Linked DNA regions of Homo sapiens: regions 1, 3 and 4 are each linked to region 2. The links are contacts of gene promoters, found by promoter capture Hi-C in blood cells and fetal thymus (Javierre and others, 2016). All regions are on one chromosome and are shown on one strand. Each heading gives the region's core, a stretch centred on a gene start or on the middle of the fragment in contact. The rest is flanking DNA. Distances are from core to core; before and after follow the strand shown.

Region 1 (3,107 bases), core at 133-2,632, about 60 Mb before region 2:
TGGAGTGCAGTGACATGATCATAGCTCACTACAGCCTCAATCTTCTGGGCCAAGCGATCCTCCCACCTCAGCCCCCCAAGTTCCTGGGACTACAAGCACATACCACCATGCACCGCTAGTTTTTTAAATTTTTTGAAGAGATGGAGTCTCCCTGTATTGCCCAGGCTGGTCTCAATCCTGGTTTAAGCCATCCTCCTGCCTTGACCTCACAAAGTGGTGGGATTACAGGCATGAGCCATCTTGCCCGGCATGATCAGTGTTTTTTGTTGTTTTGGGTGGTAGAGTTGAAGTCGTTTTTGTGGTGAAATCGAAGTATTACCGTATTACCAACTCATTTTTTAAAATATGAAATGTATAAAGAAAAAATATTAGAAAATTGAAGTTTAGCACCAATATTAATGGAAAATAATGCATTGTGTTCCAAAATGTAAAAAGTTGCAAATTGCACAATTAGAGGTTAGCAATCTCAGCCTCCTAATTAGTAGACTTTGAGGTACTTGTACGTACTTGTTGCCTTAGGCTTCATCAACAAGAGATTATAATTAAGATGCTTCCTGAAAACTATTTTTAGTAGATTTAAGCCTGACTTCAGTTGAACTGTTTCCTAATAATTGTTCTCGTTTGTTTTCATTAATGCTGGGAACAGTGCTAACTTTCTGACAAATCTACCATGATGTGACTCCTGATTACCTTGTTTAGCTTCATACCCTGACACTCTTTTTGCATTTTAAATTATCAATAACAAGAATTAACGTGTATTGATGGTTTGCCGCACACCAGCTACTGAATTCAGCGTTTCACAGCTGTTAAGGCTCCCTAAAATCCTGAGGTAGGAATTATCAGCCTTCATTTTATAAATGAGAAAATTATGGCTTTTCAAAGCTCTGGTGATTACCCAAGGTCACAAAGCTTCTAATGATAGAGGCAGGTTTTAAATCTAGACAATGTGATTCCAAGAACTCACGTCTTTGAAGATTACATGTAGTTTTCTAATAAACTATACTTTTCCTTCTTCCTGGAGTATCTCTCTCATAGTCATCCTACCAAATAGCTATGAATTCATAACTCAGTTCAAAAGTCAATACTCTGGTTTCTCTTTAGAGTGTATAAATCTTTTGCCTTTTACAAAAGTCACTTCTACATCTTCTCTAATCTCCTTCCTAATAAATATGCTCTTCACTCCCACCTATGCTACTACTAAATCTAATACATTTGTTATTATACTTTCCATGCAATAATTATTTATCCATCTCTCTCCCCCCCAACCCCCACTAAACCATGAGCACTCTGAGGGAATGGATTGCTTCTCACTCATCTCTCAATTCTCAGTTCTTTGTCCTGTGCCCTTCATGTGATCAACAAATTATTGTGGAATTAAATTAACAGTTAACACTTGCTATTACTACTTAGATTGCTCTTCTTTCCTGGCTTCCTAAAATGTTCCTGTTAATCTTTCCCATTCTTTCAGGTTAAATTACTCAAGGGTTGTCAGTACTTGGTGCCCTCTCCTCACTTCCTAAGCGCTCCAAAAACTATTAATATCTGGGTTTAGCCACCACCACTCTACAAAAACAGCTTTCACTAATGCCATCAATAACCTCTGGTTGCTAAATGCAATGAACACTTTTTTTAGTTTTAAGTTTTTATTTTTGAGATGGGGTCTTGCTGTGTTGCCCAGACTGGTCTCAAACCCTTGGGTTCATGCAGTCCTTCTGCCTCAGGCTCCCAAGTTGCTGAGACTACAGGCACGTGCCACCATGCCTGGCTTCAGTTTTTTATTTACGTGACTCTCAGTAGCATTTGATGCTGTTGACCACGCTGTCCTTAAAATAATCTTCCTCTTGGTATTCAGAAACCAAGCTTCTCTTACCTATTCTGGTTTATACATCTGTCTTCTCAGCCTACTCATTGTCCTTAACTATTAAATATGTGTTTTTCTCAGGTTCAGTTTTTGTCTCTATTCTCTTCCAACTGTACTGTCTCCCTAGGTGATCTCATCCAAGCTCACAATTTTAATTTCCATCTGTTTAGTCAGGGACTCTCAAATCGTTATCTTTAGTCTGTAACTCGCTTCTGGGATCTTGACCCATATATGCAACTGCCAAGTTACTATTTCCATTTGGAGTATCAAAGTGACCTCAAAAGTCAAGATGTCCAAAAGTGACCTCAAAAGTCAAGATGTCCAAAACTGACCTGATTTTCTTTACCTTTCCCATAACTACAACAACGAGAATGACAACAACAACAACAAAAGACCTGGTAGTCTTCTACTAAACAGCAATGCCAACTACATAGTCAATTGCTCAAGCCAGAAACTCACTGATTTAAGTTTGAAAGTGGGCTGGGATTACAAGTATAATTATACAAATGACAACTTGGGCTCAGTTCAGTTACTTTTGCTTTGATTTTTTTTTTTCCTTTGGGCCAGGGTCCCACTCTGTTACCCAGGCTACAGTGCGGTGGCAAGATCACAGTTCACCACAGCCTCAACCTCCCAGGCTCAGGTGATCCTCCAACCTTAGCCTCCTGAATAGCTGGGACTGCAGGCGCACACCACCACATCTGGCTAATTTTTATATTTTAGTAGAGATGAGGTCTCCCCATGTTGCCCAGGCTGATCTCGAACTCTTGGGCTCAAGTGATCTGCCTGCCTCATCCTCCCAAAGTGCTAGGATTGCAGGTGTGAGCCACCATGTGGCTCACTTTTGCTTTGATTAAGGAGTAAAAATGAGATAAGTAGGCATCTAGGTAAACTCATCATCTTATTAGTTCCCTTGTATCTTAATGTACCATGGGCATAAGGTACCATACCATACTTAATGTACCATGGGCATAAGGACTGCATCAAGTAAAATATTCTCTAAATTGGAAGATTATTGCAGTGGAACACATTGCTTTTTTTGGGAGTTTTGCTCTTGTTGCCCAGGCTGGAGTGCAATGGTGTGATCTCTGCTCACTGCCGCCTCCGCCTCCCAGGTTCAAGTGATTGTCCTGACTCAGCCTCTCGAGTAGCTGGGATTACAGGCACCTGCCACCACACCCAGCTTATTTTTGTATTTTTAGTAGAGATGGGGGTTTCACCATGTTGGTCAAGCTGATCTCGAACT
Region 2 (3,415 bases), core at 214-2,713:
AACACTTAAAGGATTTCAAATGAAGAAAATACATACTTTACTGTTTTAATACATTGTTCTTCTGGCTGAGGCTGGTCAAAGCTACACTGATCTTCAAATAAAGGCTCGTCAATGCTACACTGTTCTTCAAGCAACGGCTGGTGAACTTGTTCTGACAAAGGATGGTCGACTTTTCTTGCTTGCTTCCTATGTCTTTCCTCTTCAGCTAAATAGAGATGTTTCAGATTATCTGGGTATCGATCTGTGAATTGAGATTCCAGTGACGTTTGAGCCTTCTTTTCCTTCCGTAGCAATTTCTTGTAACTTTGCTGTATTTTCAGTTTTCTTCGAAAAGCAAAGCCTTGTCCTACATTGAGGAATATCATCCAAAATTACTTTCAGAGAAAAGAAGTTGAACGAAGAATGGAGCTGTTAATTACAAATGAAAACTTTTTTTACGTCATCACATTCAGATTCTAGTATTATATTTTGCTTTAAAAAATTATTTCAAGCAACAAATTTAAGCTGATGGATTGCATAGTAAGTTGGCCCTTTGCAAAAAGACCAGGCTAACAGTCATGCGGAAATCCAAGTAAGAATCTCAAAGAAAAACTGACCAGTTCAGACTGTTGCACAACTTGAGTTTACAGCTGTATTCACAAATCAAAACAAATTCCTTAGTTCATCTAAAACACTTAATCTGAGCCTTCAATAAATGCTTAAAAAATAGGAAAGAAAATGCCACATCTAGTATCTTGGACAAACTACATGTTTTCGAAAATGTTTCAACACGAAAGAAAAAGACAGTGTATGGTTGTCTGAAAAGCTAGCAATTATCGGAAGACTGAATTTAACATTTATATATTCCAAGTGGGATCTAAGAGACCTTACAGACAGCAATACAAAATGACAAACACAAATTAAAGCGAAGGCTGGAGGGCCTCGGGTATTTGTAATAAGGAAGAATTCGGAGCAGTGTTTCTGGCCCTGTCCTCCTCTCTATCCTTTACCTTACCACATGCGCAAGAGTTCACAGGGTCATAGACTCTCTCTGCTCAGTTTCTCAGGAAAAATATAGGAAAAAAGTTCTGATGAAATACAGGGTTACGTCAGAAAAGACGTTTAAATAATAGCAACACTGCTCCGTCTTCCTATCTAGAGCTCTGCGAAGCTCACAGCTTTAGCGGGCTCAGGAATGAATTCCCTTGCCCCAAGTAGGACCGGGTCTGGTTCCTAAATCCTTCTTCCAAGCTTCAGCGAATCTTATATCCTAAAACTTAGCAAGCCTGAGGATTTGCAAATGGTTGCCTTCTTACATACCCTCGCGAACGCTCCCCACGAAGGCTTGCGGGTGGTTAGGCCGCCATGTCTTCTGTCTCACATTCTTATTCCTGTACCCGACAGTGGAAACCCCTTCACCACGCGCCTCAATACCACCAGGCCGCCACTTCGCGGACCGCCTCACCGGCGCCATTGCAGCCGACTAACTGCGTCATCAGAAGACCACGACGGACGCCCACAAAATACGTCACCAAGCCGAAGCAATCAATCGCTCAGAAGGAATCCGGCTCGGAGCTCTACTGAGCCTGCCTGTGCTAATTTGGGCCGAGCTGGCGCCTCACGGCCATGTTTGCGCCACCTACAGCCTCGGAGGGTGAGCGTCATGGCGGCTTCTTGCCCTCTCCCGGTGACCCCGGACCTGCCCACGCTGCGTGCCAAGTTGCAGGGACTGCTGCAGTTCCTGAGGGATGCCCTGTCCATTTCCAATGCACATACCGTGGATTTCTACACAGAATCCGTGTGGGAGGAGCTGGTCGACTTGCCACCGGAGACAGTGCTGGCTGCGCTGAGGAAGTCAGCGTCGGAGACGGAGGCCCTGCCCTCAGAGACGCGCCCCCTAGTGGAAGCAGAGTGGGAAGCAGGTGGGTGGTGGGGTAGGCGGGGCGGGAAGGGAGGCGGAGGAGAAGGTCCCGGCAGACGAAGCGAGCCCCCTGGTGGAAGCCAGCAGAACCAGGTGCGTGGCGGCGGAGGCGGGGCGGCCCGCTGGGAAACCGAGGAGGGGTCGGATTAGTTGAGGGGTGGGGTGGGGATGTTCTTTGGAATCAGGATCACTCTTTCTTTGGGTGCTTGTGTATGTCCACAATTTAAAGAAAGCAGGAAACAGGGCAGGGGAGTTCCTTCATCTAGTAATTCCATAATAATTGACGCTAGGGAAACTAGGGGAGCAGTGCTCTCACAGGTTTTATAAATGCCAGCATGTGGTGGAAGATTACTCAACAGTTAATAAAGATAATTTCAAGTGGTGGTAATGAAGTAGAAAATAAAAACAGTGTAATGTGGTAGGGATTGTGTAAGGAGGCTGCCTCAATTTAGGAGGTCAGGAACATGAGAAGGCACTAGCTGCAGAGCCACAGGGAGGGGTTGCAGGCGGTGGGAACCGCAGGCTAGGCTTGGCTCTAGCCAGGTGAGGGGCTGCAGGTGCAGGACGGGAGGCAAGCAGAGGCCAGATGGCACAGGCCTTTCTAGGCCTTGGAAGGATTTTGGATTTTAAGTGTGACGGAAACCCTTGGGATTATTTAGGCAACATAGTGACCTAATTCACATTTGAAAAGATAACTGTGAATTATTTGAAGAATAGACTAGGGCAAAAGCTGAAGCTGAGAGGCCAGTTAGGAGACTACCTCAGTAGTACAACAGATGATTGTATCTTGGACTAGGATGGTATTCGGATAGTCACTATTTCATTTAAAAACTATTTTAAAGTACCTAATATGTGTCTTGAATTTTTGTAGGCTCAAGCTTTTCCTACCCTCAAGAAATGTAGATTCTTCTCAGGCAAGCATATTTTGGAAGTAGAATGATGGACACCAACAGGCTTCTGGGATTTTTACTTTCCTTCTAGACTTCCCAAAGTTACCCTTACTAGTGAACTTTATTCATTGAGCATTCTCTGAATGCAAAGCATCACTAGAGGGACCTCTTATAATAGCACTTGGTAAATACTGTTGTTGTTTTTTTAAGTAATTGTTATTGAAAAGTTAGGCACTTCTTCAGTTTGCTCTCATAATAAATATATGGCACTTATGATATGACAATTTTACTTAAACTCCAAAAGAGCAGAGTCTTTGTCTGACTTGTCAACTGATGTATTCCCAGCACTTGGTAAAATACTTGGCATACATTAGATACTGGATGAATATTTGTTGAATGGAGGAATTAATGAGTTACTCATGTTAGTTTTAAATAAATAAAATGAAACTACTCTCAAGTTTAGAGTGTAAGACTTTAATACGTGTTTAGCCTGGTCTCCAGACAATGGTAGAGTCAGATTGTCTTACATATTCTAATAATAATTGGATTATTTGATATTTACTATATACCCTGTAGTGTGCTAAGTGTCTTCATGTGTATTTTCTCTTTTAATCTTTACATCAGC
Region 3 (3,168 bases), core at 650-3,149, about 25 Mb after region 2:
GGCTCAGTGCAGCTTTGACCTCCCAGGCTCTAGCAATCCTCCTGCTTCAGTATCCCAAATAGCTGGGACTACAGGAGGGTGCCACCATGCTCAATTATTATTATTATTTTTTTAAGAGATGGGATCTCCCCATGTTGCCCTTGCTGGTCTTAAACTCCTAGGCTCAAGTGATCTTCCCGACTCAGCCTCCCGAGGTGCTGGGATTAAAGGCGTGAGTCATCTGTATTTTATTTTAACAATCTAAGAAAGGGAGGTCACAGAATGGGAATCAAGAACTTAGAGGAGTTCAGACTATAAAACGAAGAAATACTACAAGTCATGTATTTGTTTGTTTTATAGGCTGAACTCCTACACCAGAAGTTTCTGATGAACTCATGACCTCCCAAAGGAGCTCTTTTAAATCTTAGTTAGTTTATGAAACAGATTCAACTGCTGCTTTGAGTTATGGCTTTTAATAACCGTAAAAATGCAAAATCTCCCAGGAGTGGCTACAATCTTGTCAGTCATTTGTACTTTAATAATAATTAGATTCTCTTGTAAAACGACGTGCAAAGGGAAGAAGAAACAAGACGTAATTGTGCACTTCATAATTTTACCTAGAGTTCAACCTTGAAAGGTCACATATTAAGGATAGAAGTTTGTGTAATAACGAGAAAACAGAGGATATCCGTTTCTTCACATACTGGATAAACAACAATCCACGGATCCTGCTAATCATCCAACCCATATGTTGAATTGACAAGAGTATTTAATTTCCTCTTTCTGCTTTGAGAAACTAAATATCTTGACAGTCTGAGCACAGTGGCTTAAGTGGCCTTAATTCTCTGATTTCATAAGTTAATGATTAGGTTGAAGCTATAAACTATAGTCCATTCCATTTAAGACCTGGATCAAAGTTAGCTTCATCCAGCATGTTTTAGCACGTCCTTTCTGAGCTATGTTGTCAGTAGTTACCATTCAGTTCCACCATCCTGAATATTCTGCAGTTGATAAACCATTTTGTGAATTTTTTTTTTTTGCTTTCTGTGTATGTTTTTGACTCGCGTGTTTTTGCTTCGCTAATCAGATTGCGAAAGGAAACATCTCACGTTTGCATAGGACTTCACAGTTCATAAAGACCTTTCCCACCCACCACAAAAAAAGTATGACAAGTTTCCCGTCATCTTCATTTTATAGGTGTGGAAAGGGAGTCAAAGAAAAGTTAATCGATACCATTTATCTAGTTAAGCAGGCTTTGAGCAGTTCATCTCCTCCCGTCCTCAAAACGACCTTCTGAGGTGTCTCCTGCAACCCTGCTCTGAAGCTCAGAGCGAGACGGCCTCACATCCCAGGGGGCTCAGCTCTGGCGGGGCCGCCACGCGCCTCCCCGTGCCTTTGGACGGGTGAGGAGAGCTGCTGCCCCGGCGGGGACCACGTGGAGGGGCCTGGTCAGCAAGTGGCAAGGACGCGGCGCAAAGCCAGGCTTTCTAATGTACAATCCGCGGCTCTTTCGATACTGAACACCCACCTCTTCAACAAATTCGAGCGCCTGGCAGGCCCTGCACCAAGCCTAGGGTGATGGCGACCCAGGCGGGTTTTTACTCTCAAGGAGCTCAATTCTAGGGCAGGGAGAAGTAAAATTAAAAAAAAAAAAATCATAACAAACTGAAAAACACATAAATAAGCCACGTCTCTCCTCACCCCTAGCACTTAATCACAAAGGCCTGTAGAGAGTCCCGACGAGAACTTCTGAGCAGGCCCCGCTGTCAGTCCCTGAGGACAGCATGCAAGGGAGGTTGACGTCCCTGGACGAAGAAAGTGCTGGAGAAACTGGCGACCGTCCCACCTTCCCTAAGGCGAAGGCTCTGAATTCCGAAGACCGTTACTCGGCGCGGAACGCGGGCACCGCCGACGTCAAAACACCGGGCCTGGGGGCCGCGGCCTACGCGTCTCCCGGGCTTCGCGCCCCTCGCCCGATTTGATTGGATGGTGGCGGGAAGAAGGCGGGGAGACCCCCGGAGGAGGGGCGCGCAGGCCGGCCGGGGGTTCCCACGGAGGCGTCCAGGGGGCGAAGGGGCGGGAGCGGGCCTCGGAGCGTCGCGCGTGCGCAATTGGGACACAGCCGGCTGGGGACTGCTGGGAGGGCCGGACCCTGCGAGAACGGGTGGGCGTGTGCCCGGTGGGCGCGGGAGGGGCCCGGGCTGCACGAGCGCGCGTGCGCGTCGGAACTGGAGCCGCGGGAGGAGGCGGGAGCTGAGGAGGCGGCGGAGGGGGCGGGTCGCGTCGGGCGCCACGTCCGCAGCCAGAGGCCTCCGCCTCCACCACCGCCGCCACAGTCTTCCAGCTCCACATCCTGAGAGGACGCCTCTGGAGCCGCGACTGCCCGGGGTTGTGCCGGCCGCCGCTGCCGCCCAGGCCGCCTCAGCTCTCCTCTGCGCCGGCCCGCTCACTCCGCCCGGCCCCAGCCCTAGCGCTGGCCGCGACCCCGGCGGTGAGTGAGTCGGGATGCGAGGGCAGGGGCGCAGTCCCGGCTTCCTGCCCTCCTCCGTCGCCCTCTGCCGTCGGCGCCCCTGCCCCTCACCTCCCAGTGCCCGGCCTGGCTGCCCAGCGGGGCCTTGGCGAGGCCCCAGCGGGAAAGGGGGAGGGGCGGGACGAAGTTGGGGGCGGATGGAGGTTCGCTTCTGGGGCTACTCCTCCTTATACGTCGCTGACTGCCCCGCCGCGATTGGAGCTTGCGCACCCCTGGAAAGCCTCCGCCTGACTTCTTAGCATCTGGGGGTTCGGGGTTGGGGGCGGAGGAGGAAGGTGAGGGGCATCAGCAGCCTGGGAGAGGGATGCAGCGGAGGGGCTTGGGTACCGGGCTTCCTCGCCCTGCCAACTCCTGACCTGTTGCTAAACCTCCCTTTTGGGTTCAGGCACACAAGACTTTTTCCCAGTGGACACCCCCATAGCTCTTCCTGGGTAGGAAGGCTGTATCTCCACGCCTAACCTAAAGTAAAAGTGGGAATGGAGAGGGTGCTGGCCGCGCCCAGGGGTGACAGGGAGGGCTGGAGCACCCATCCGTGCCGTCACTGCCTCCCAGTCTAAATAAAAACTGCCTGCTCTGCACACGCAGCTTCAAGACCGACCCCCCAGCTCCCACTTCCAATCAGATCGCCTGTCCTAAACCCTTCTTACATAGAAATTCTG
Region 4 (3,414 bases), core at 858-3,357, about 39 Mb before region 2:
AATATCACTTGTCAATGTCAAATAGATACAAATGAATAAACTCAAAGTTACATATTCATTACAGCTAACTTTAATATTATATGAAATACAGTATTTCTCTTATTCTCATGTTTTCAGATTATCCATCTGAATTCGTATCAATTACCCATTACCTAGGAGTTCCTCTTTAATCATTTTAATTGCAACATATAGAATCCACATACAAACATAATACCTTTACTGTTCCAAATACTTCATCTTTAATGTGGCCACCTCCAAATTCCTTCTTCAGAGTTGCTCTTGTTGCTGCATACAACATTTTTTGACGAACCTATTCAGTTGTGAAAGTTTACTTAGTTTATAGATGAAAACATAACATTACAAAAGCAAGCACATTCTGAATATATTAATATCCTGAATCACATTAAAAACAAAACTGAGCTGAAGTCCACCCACTATAATATGCTAAAATACGTGTGTACAAATAACCGTCATTAACATGGGCATCTAAACTATCAATGGTTAGTAAGATGGACTTCAATTTACAATGTCACTTTTTTTGTTTTTTGAGACGCAGATTTGCTCTTGTTGCCCAGGCTGGAGTGGAATGGCATGATCTCAGCTCACTGCAACCTCTGCCTCCCAGGTTCAAGTGGTTCTCCTGCCTCAGCCTCCCGAGTAGCTGGGATTATAGGTGTGCGCCACCACACTTGGCTAATTTTTTCTATTTTTAGTACAGACGGGCTTTCACCATGTTGGTCAAGCTGGTCTCAAACTCCTGACCTCTGGTGATCCACTCGCCTCGGCTTCCCAAAGTTTAGGGATTACAGGCATGAGCCACCGTGCCTGGCCACATTTTAAAGCTGAAAAAAATATAAATTGTTTAAATTCTTCATTTTTCAAACTCATAAGTTCAAGAATAAAAAATTAAAATATGAGGAAAACTGAAATGAAGTAACTTTGATAGTGACATTCTTCTCAAAGCTGTATCAAAGATTACGAATTAAGTTGTTAAGAATCAAAATTCACGGCTTACCGATGGCACATACCATTCTAGGAGGGACACAAAGATGGAAAAAAAAATTCAAGAGTCAACTAGTATCTATGGAAAGCTACTAAAGATAACTACCAATTAACAAATAATTTCATAATCCTGCATGGTCAAACCCAGTATTTCTTTCAGATAGAACATGGGGAATTAAAGAGGAATGGGATGATCTTTTGAGAAAATATCTAGATAACTTTAAAAATAATTATTTTTTAATAAGAAAAATTCAAATTAATTTTTTAAATATTGGGCCATATTCATATATTAATTCTGTCTATTGTTCTATACAGTCAATCTACTACCAGCTTTCCTAAAATACTTGTTTGTATGCAGGCCCATCACTTGAATGGTAGCGATTAATAAATGTATGATAATACTAACAAAATTTAATATTATGTTCAATTAGTTCTCAGATTTATTACAATTATTACTCTCAGGGCCAGGCAGTTTCCTTCATTTTTCAGAGGCCCATGGAGTCATTTTAAAATTACCACAAATTAGGTTGGACACAGTGGCTCATACCTGTAATCCCAGCACTTTGGGAGGCCGAGGTGGGTGGATCACTTAAGGCCACGAGTTTGAGACCAGCCTGGGCAACACAGTGAAACCCCGTCTCTACTAAAAATATAAAAATTAGCTGGGCGTGGTGGCACATGCCTGTAATCCCAGCTACTCAAGAGGCTGAGGTGGGAAAATCACTTGAGCCTGGGAGGCAGAGGTTGCAGTGAGCCGAAACTGCACCACAGCAAGCTGGTCTGGGTGACAGAGTGAGATTCTGCCTTAAAAAAGAAAGAAAAAATTGCCATTGCCACAAATTTTTAAATCTTAAATCAGTAATAATTATTTTGATTTCAAGGGCAAAACTCCCGAATCTAAGCACATTATTCCTGATTCTCCGTTATCAATCCAAGGATTTTCCTCATGATCATTCCCTTCTATGGGAAATAATTATTGTTTTTTAACCTTTATTTGACCTAGAAATTTCAAAAACATTTTTCTAGCATTTAATGTTAAACAAACTATAAAAAAGTTACTTACATGAGAATGATCTGGAGACCATGCAATGAATATCCATTCATATCCCTGGGCATTCTGAGAATCTAACCTGAATAATATATAGCATGGTTGTTTGTCCTCCAACAGGGGTAAAACAAAGGAATCATAATCCTTATCCCAGGAATCTGAAGGCTGACTATATGATCCAATCACAAGTTGCTCTATGAAAAATTATTTTTAGAAAGATAGGTAAATGGTTTGAGATATCAAGTGGTAGTGTGATGAAGACTAGAAAAATAAATATATAGTCATTTCCCAGTTACTATTATTCACATCAAAAAGTTGAAAAGAAAAATGTGGTAACATAGAAAGTAATTATGACATAGAGTATTATAAAAACTGTTAACTTTTTATGAACATGGTTAAAATGTTTAAAATATACACAGCCTAAGAAAGAAACATATAAAAATGATCATAACAGTTGAACTGAATGGTCAAATAATGTAATGACCTATAACAGTCATTACATTTCTATTTTCCAAAATGTCTGAGCTTAAGTTATCAACAAAATATATTTAAACTACCATTCAAAAGTATAATTTCTGACATTAACAATGAATTGTACAGTAAGAAATATTAAATAAAACCATGTTTAACTCCTTTTTATTTGGCCATAATGCTACAGATTTAAACATTTGCCTAGATGTATACACTGGTATAGCCACTTTGAAATGGTATTCAGCAGAATCAAGTAAAACTGTTAATCTACTATGCATACAGAATCTCTTATACATAAATACAAAGGTGTTCACTGCAGCACTATACAGTAACAGTGAAGTTATAGCCTCAATGTTCATCAATAAGACAATGCAAAAATAATGTGTGGCATAGTCATATAACATTCTGTTCAGATTTAAAATGAATTATTGAGCTATCAAAACTAATTGCAAATGGAACATTTTCAGAAAAAGGAAAGATACAGAGTAAGATGGTATCATGCAGTTTATGTAAACTCAAAGAGCACTATATGCTATTTAGGGATACATGTAAAAACAGACTGCACAAGTATCAGAACTCCCAATTGTAGTTGCCCCAGGGTAAGGAGGTCAGAAGCAAAATTGTTTAAAGGGGATGCTCTTATACCAGAAAAACACTGAATTTTCTAAAATGCTTGAAGTAAATAAGATAAAATGTTAGCAGTTATTAATAAAGGGGAGATATAGGTATTTATGATACAATTTTAGTCTTTGGAATTTTCCTTATTTAAAAATTTTCACAAAACAAAAAAGTAAAACCAGAAAATAATAACTTAGGAAGTAGTGCCATTTTCCTTCCGTAGAGATGCTAGTTAGATTAACTTTTCCATTTTAGTTCCTTAACTAGTCACTTAG

What was found. Contacts are between HindIII fragments. The CHiCAGO score rates a contact against its expected background, and 5 or more counts as called.
Region 1: a contact is called between a fragment that was not itself captured here and the fragment with the promoter of CCDC59 in region 2, in 1 of 17 cell types (non-activated CD4 T cells). The highest score is 8.2, in non-activated CD4 T cells.
Region 3: a contact is called between the fragment with the promoter of TMEM263-DT here and the fragment with the promoter of CCDC59 in region 2, in 1 of 17 cell types (non-activated CD4 T cells). The highest score is 7.0, in non-activated CD4 T cells.
Region 4: a contact is called between a fragment that was not itself captured here and the fragment with the promoter of CCDC59 in region 2, in 1 of 17 cell types (naive B cells). The highest score is 5.5, in naive B cells.

Annotation. Positions count from the first base shown.
Region 1 is chr12:22,546,474-22,549,580 of GRCh38, forward strand. No RefSeq gene overlaps it. Among named protein-coding and RNA genes, the nearest start is that of C2CD5, 3.5 kb to the left of the region's middle. The HindIII fragment of the contact is 951 bases long and covers 908-1,858 here.
Region 2 is chr12:82,356,924-82,360,338 of GRCh38, forward strand. CCDC59 (coiled-coil domain containing 59) reads right to left here and starts at 1,464. Exons shown (of 4, transcript NM_014167.5): 1 at 1,300-1,464; 2 at 37-346. The coding sequence starts at 1,453. METTL25 (methyltransferase like 25) reads left to right here and starts at 1,606. Exons shown (of 12, transcript NM_032230.3): 1 at 1,606-1,901. The coding sequence starts at 1,643. RefSeq lists enhancers at 1,273-1,833, 1,344-1,903, 1,834-2,394. The HindIII fragment of the contact is 1,548 bases long and covers 1,229-2,776 here.
Region 3 is chr12:106,953,596-106,956,763 of GRCh38, forward strand. It overlaps TMEM263-DT (TMEM263 divergent transcript), which reads right to left and starts at 1,900. Exons shown (of 1, transcript NR_185933.1): 1 at 1-1,900. It overlaps TMEM263 (transmembrane protein 263), which reads left to right and starts at 2,312. Exons shown (of 4, transcript NM_152261.4): 1 at 2,312-2,470. RefSeq lists a silencer at 1,940-2,699 and an enhancer at 1,976-2,270. The HindIII fragment of the contact is 6,686 bases long and covers 1-3,168 here.
Region 4 is chr12:43,800,221-43,803,634 of GRCh38, forward strand. TWF1 (twinfilin actin binding protein 1) reads right to left here. Exons shown (of 9, transcript NM_002822.5): 3 at 2,066-2,244; 4 at 215-310. It also overlaps a transcript of TMEM117 not described here. Among named protein-coding and RNA genes, the nearest start is that of TWF1, 4.4 kb to the right of the region's middle. The HindIII fragment of the contact is 5,233 bases long and covers 1-3,414 here.